Regions from separate parts of the Homo sapiens genome. Here region 1 is linked to region 2. Evidence: promoter capture Hi-C in human tissues and cell types (Jung and others, 2019). All regions are on one chromosome and are shown on one strand. Each heading gives the region's core, a stretch centred on a gene start or on the middle of the fragment in contact. The rest is flanking DNA. Distances are from core to core; before and after follow the strand shown.

The links. The method cuts DNA at HindIII sites, captures the fragments that hold promoters and counts their contacts. A contact is called where the count stands out against the background at its distance.
Region 1: a contact is called between a fragment that was not itself captured here and the fragment with the promoter of HID1 in region 2, in 1 of the 25 tissues and cell types used here (lymphoblastoid cells).

Annotation. Positions count from the first base shown.
Region 1 is chr17:75,518,009-75,520,763 of GRCh38, forward strand. It overlaps TSEN54 (tRNA splicing endonuclease subunit 54), which reads left to right. Exons shown (of 11, transcript NM_207346.3): 6 at 987-1,039. Among named protein-coding and RNA genes, the nearest start is that of TSEN54, 2.9 kb to the left of the region's middle. The HindIII fragment of the contact is 6,204 bases long and covers 1-2,755 here.
Region 2 is chr17:74,971,384-74,974,083 of GRCh38, forward strand. HID1 (HID1 domain containing) reads right to left here and starts at 1,376. Exons shown (of 19, transcript NM_030630.3): 1 at 1,208-1,376. The coding sequence starts at 1,273. The region is part of intron 1 of HID1-AS1 (HID1 antisense RNA 1); the gene reads left to right. RefSeq lists a silencer at 1,331-1,440. The HindIII fragment of the contact is 11,502 bases long and covers 1-2,700 here.

The DNA.
Region 1 (2,755 bases), core at 120-2,619, 550 kb after region 2:
ATGTCAGGATTAAGGAGAGAGAAGAACCCAGGATTACCGCCCATGATTTGGGCATGCACCAGTGGATGAAGGTGCTGTCATTTTCTGAGTGGGAAGAATGAAGAGGAGCAGATTTGGGAGGACAAGACCAGTCGAAAGAACTGTGTCAGATAAGTTAATTTTGAGGAGCTTCTTGGACATCCAAGTGAGTGTAAAGCAGACAGACAATTGGAATCCAAGTCTGGAGTGTGAGGAGAGGTCAAGGCTAGATGTAAATATGGGTGCCATGAGCACATGGATGGTATTTAAACTACTGGGCTGTATGGGAGTGCCATCAGAGTAGAGGGCTGGGTCTGAGCCCTGGGGCTCTCTGTGTAGGTTAGGGGGCAGATAAGAAGCAGAAACAGACCGAGGAGTGTCTGGTGATGCAGGAGAAAAACCAAAGTCGCATCACAGAAGCCAAAAGAAGGTCTTTCAAGGAGGAAGTGGTTAGCTGTGCTAAAGCCTGCTGAGATCAAGCAGGATGGGGGACATTCTTATCTATGTTCCTCTGATATGAATGCAGGGACACAAGGTTGAATATGTGGCTCCCTACCAGAAACTTCCCACCGGCATCTGTGGAGGTGTGGGGCTGGAGAGATGCCCACCACCTGCCATCATTTTGTTCACATGGTGATCGGCAGCTTCACTCCTATGAGCTTTGTATCAAAATACTCAAGTATTTCAGGGCGTGGTGGTTTTCTGGTTTCATGGCTATCAGTTTTTTTGGATTTGGCTAAATGTCATTTGTGCCGAGTAAGGTAAGTGGGAGGACAGGAATTCAGAGCCTGAGATCTTTAGGGATGGTGTTCGTAATGAAGCATGGTCCAACCTTAATCACAGGGTTTAGAATCTGGGGGTGTACAGGAGGGGCAGAGAGGGCTGTGGGGATGGCCTGTGTCTGGAGAAACCATTTGGTGTTTTCCAGAGTGGCCATCTGAGCTTTCATTTTTTTTTTTTCTTTTGAGGTCTTCAGCCACCTGAAGAGGTTGGGTTATGTGGTTCGACGATTCCAACCAAGGTAAATCCCCTTCCTGTTCCCCTTCCATATATTCTAGTCCTGGGACCTGGCTGACTAGTCTAAGGTAGAAAATGGCCTCTCCTTACCTGGAACCCTTGGCTGGAGTGCAGTTCCTTGGGCACAGACTGGGGGCGCCTGCTGGAAGCGTTCTGAGAGAGGCAGGTTGGGAGGAATCCAGGTCATTTTGTTTTATTCTGGTTTATGAACTCGAGCCGCATCTTCAGATGACCTGCGCCTGCAGCTGAGTGTGTGTGAGCACTGAGAGGCAGGATTGGAACAGTGCCTGGCACTTAGTAGGTGCGCAGGCAGGTATGTAGAGTGTATGCTTAAATGAAGGACTGGGTGAAGAATTTACCATTAGTAGGGTTTCACATTTTTCATGCCAGGTTAAATGTTTTTTCCTTCATCACCTTAGTAATCCAGCATTGGTAAAAGGCAGAGACCTTCAGACTTGGAGTGGAAACGGGTACAGCTTTTGCAGTTACAGTATGTCACAAAAGCTCTAAAGCAGGCACATCTTTTCTTTTCTTTTTGAGACGGAGTCTCACTCTGTCGCCCAGGCTGTAGTGCAGTGGCATGATCTCAGCTTACTGTAGCCTCTGCCTCCTGGGTTCAAGCAGTTCTCCTGCCTCAGCCTCCCAAGTAGCTGGGATTACAGGCGTGTGCCACCATGCCTGGCTAATTTTTTTATTTTATTTTATTTTTAGTACAGATGGGGTTTCACTGTGTTGCCCAGGCTGGTCTCGAACTCCTGACCTCAAATGATCCTCCCGCCTCAGCCTCCCAAAGTGCTGGGATTACAGGCATGAGTCACCACGCCCAGCTCTACATCTTTTCTTTTCTGAAAGTGGAACCTATCCTAAGGAAATAATCGTGGACGTGTACAGTGGTTCACCTGTGAGAATGATCAACGATATTTATTATTTGCTGGGGGTCAGGCCCTGTACACATCGCTGAGAACAGAAGAGCAAAATCACTGCCCTCACAGAGCTTGCATTTAGTGAGGAGTCACACAGAACACACTCACTGTGCAAAATCAGTGTACTTGCAAACAAGAGTTGAACAAGAGGCAGGCTCACACAAATGAGAGGTTATCCCTTAGAGCAGCTCTGTCCAATAGAACTTTCTGTAATGATGAAAATGTTCTGTGTCTGTGATGTCTAATACATGGGGCTAGAGCAACTGTGGGACTGAATGTTTAATTTCATTTAATTTAAATGTATTTAAATCTAACTTAAATAGGCTGGTGTGGTGGCTCACGCCTATAATCCCAGCATTTTGGGAGGCCGACGCGGGCGGATCGCGTGAGCTCAGGAGTACGAGACCAGCCTGGACAGCGTGGTGAAACCCTGTCTCTACTAAAATACCAAAAAAAAAAAAAAAAAAAAATCAGCCAGGTGTGGTGGCAGGCGCCTATAGTCCCAGCTATTCAGGAGGCTGAGGCACGAGAATTGCTTGAACCTGGGCAGCTGAGGTTGCAGTGAGCCGAGATCTTGCCAGTGCACTCCAGCCTGGGCGAAAAAGCGAAACTCTATCTCAAAAAAAAAAGCAAACTTAAATAGCCACCTGTCGCTAGTGGCTCTTTTTTGAACAGCATTGCCTTAAAGCCTTAATTCACAGCCAGGAGGCCAGGCACAGTGGCTCACACCTGTAATCCCAGCACTTTAGGAGGCCGAGGCAGGTGGATCATGAGGTCAGGAGATGGAGACCATCCCG
Region 2 (2,700 bases), core at 126-2,625:
TGCGGTCTGGTTTCTATCAAGAGCCTTTCAGCCGGGGTTGGACTCTCCAGAGGCCCTGGGCATTTGCTGCACATTTGACCCTTCCAGGGTGGGGAAAGGGGTGAGGGAGCAAGGTCTGGCCCCTGGAGCTGTGACCAGCTGGCTGTGGGAGCTGGCTTCCTCCATCCCACTCTAACCTCCAGCAGCAAGAGAGAGCCCTGGAGAGCAGGAGGTGGGGGGGCCAGGAAAGAGGAAGATCCCAGATGGCAGCAGGTCCTGTGTCCCCTGAAAATGGGGGACATGGGGAGTCAGGGCCGAGCATCTCTGTGGCCACGGTGGCCTGATTCAAAAAGCCAGGAGAGAAGGGGTGGGCAGAGAAGCAGTCTTGCTGGGGCCAGGTGGTATAAGGAGGTGGCTATTGGGCCACTTGTGGACTCACAGGAGAGTTATGAGCATGGACTAGGCTGGAGGGTCCTTAGGCCCCTCACCAGCTGACTGAGGGCCATCCTGCGGGTCCCCATCCCTGAGCCAGAGAACAGAGCACACAGGCTAACAGCCTTTCCCTTGCAGGGCCTCGGGGAAGGCCCCTGGAGAGGTCCCCAGCTGGGAGGCTGTGCTCAGTAGGCCTGGGGACAGGGCCCCCCACCAGGCTGCCTCGCTGCCCGCCACTCTTTGCGTGTTCCCAGGAAGACCTGGGCCTTCCCTGCCCACGGGCATCGACCAGGGCCCAGCGAGGCCGCTGCCGCGCACACCAGCTGTTTCTCCGACCCGGGCGGACGCCAGCCAGGCTTTGTTTGCATTGAGTCAACAGGGACTGTGCGTCCGGGACCCGCGGGCAATGAGGGGCAGGGAGGGGAGCGGACGGTGGATGGGTGGGTGGGGGCGGCGGGAGGCTGGAGATGCGAAGCTGGGGACGCCGCGGGGCGGGACAGGGGGCGGACAGCTGTGTCGCCGGCTCGGGGAGTAGGCACACGTCAGCCTAAGGTGGCAGCAGCGGCTTCGGGGAGAGGGGTGTTCCCAGGAGAGGAGGCTGAGGGTGGGGGACTAGGGCCAGGGGATGGAGCTTCCAGGTACAGGCCGCGGGGTCCCGTTCCGGCGCTGGCCTTGGCGTTACGCTCGGGGCCCGCCCGTCCCCCCATCTCCCGACGAGCCAAGTTCGCGTACCCCCGGCCCTGCCCAGCCCCCAGCCCGGCAGGTGGATGGGGACGCCGGGGCCCCCGTGGCGCACCTGCGTCTTGGTGGTGAGCTGGATCACCGCCTTCCGGAAGTTCAGCTTGGAGTCGGTCGACCCCATGTCTCTGGAGCCCGCTCCGGCCCGGCCCCCGCCCAGACTCCAACCCGGCTCCGGCTTCAGCTCCGGCTCCAGCTCCGCGGCCCCCGCGGCTCTCGCAGGAGACAAGCGGCGCGCCCCGCCCCCGGCCCTCGTCGGCCCCGCCCCGACAGGCCCCGCCCCCGCGTGGCTCCGCCTCCTGCACCTGCAGCGCCCGCCGCCGAAGACCCGCGGAGTCGGCGGTTCCAACCCAGCGCCGCCGCACGCCGGGTGCCTTCTCAGGTCCCACCCGGAGCCTCGACGCTCTTCCTTCTGCGTCGGAGCATTGTACCCGCCTCCGCTGCTACCACGCAGTCCCCAGGGCCCAAAACCCTCCTCGCAGCTCGTCCCCCGCCCCGGTCCTCACCCTTCATCTCCGCTCCGGCTCCTGGCCCACGTCTCAGCTGGCCCTCTCCATCCCACTTTCCTCCTTCTCAGTCTGTCTTTCCCATTCATGTTTTCTGAGCATCCACTCTCTTGGTTCTCCCTTTTTCTGACCTGTCAAACCCACGTGTTCAGACAGTCCCGCAGGCCCTTGGTTATGAGGGAGGGAGGCGCTGACTCAGTTTCCATACTCCAGGAAAGCAGCTCCTCGCCTTGCTGAGCGCGAGAGTCCCTCGCGGTCCCGACCCCTCTCTAGCCACCAGATTCCCAGAGAATCCTTTGAGATTCATCCATTTCAACAAATGTGCTGAGGGTCTGGTATTTGCCAACTCTGTGTCATGGACGGACACAGCGGACATAAGTAGTACAGCCTGCTCTTTATGGCGAGCAGCTAGGGAGAGGGATAAGGAAAGAAGCGGCCAGGGTACAGCCAAATAAGCCTGTAATAGAGGCAGATTAATCATCAAAACAAGGCCGGGTGCGGTGGCTAACGCCTGTAATCCCAACACTTTGGGAGGCCGAGGCAGGCGGATCACGAGGTCAGGAGTTCGAGACCAGCCTGGCCAACATGGTGAAACCCCGTCTCTACTAAAAATACAAAAATTAGCTGGGCTTAGTGGCGCACGCCTGTAATCCCAGCTACTCTGGAGGCTGAAGTAGCAGAATTGCTTAAACCTGGGAGGCAAAGGTTGCAGTGAGCCGAGATCACGCCACTGCACTCCAGCCTGGGCGACAGAGCAAGACTCCATCTCGGGGGGGGGGGGGGAATCAAAACAAGACGACAATGACGATATCTCTAATAGCTACCTCTGAGGTATTATTTTATCCCCATTTTACACTTGGGGAAAATGAGGCTTAAAGCAATTACTTGCCCAAAGCCACACAGGTAGTAAGGAGCTCATCCAAATGAGGCTGCGCTTTTTCCACAACATCATTTTGCAAGCTATGTCTGGAAGCTTCTGGAAATCTTGGATGCTTTTTTATTTTTTATTTTTTGAGATGGAGTTTCGCTCTGTCGCCCACCCAGG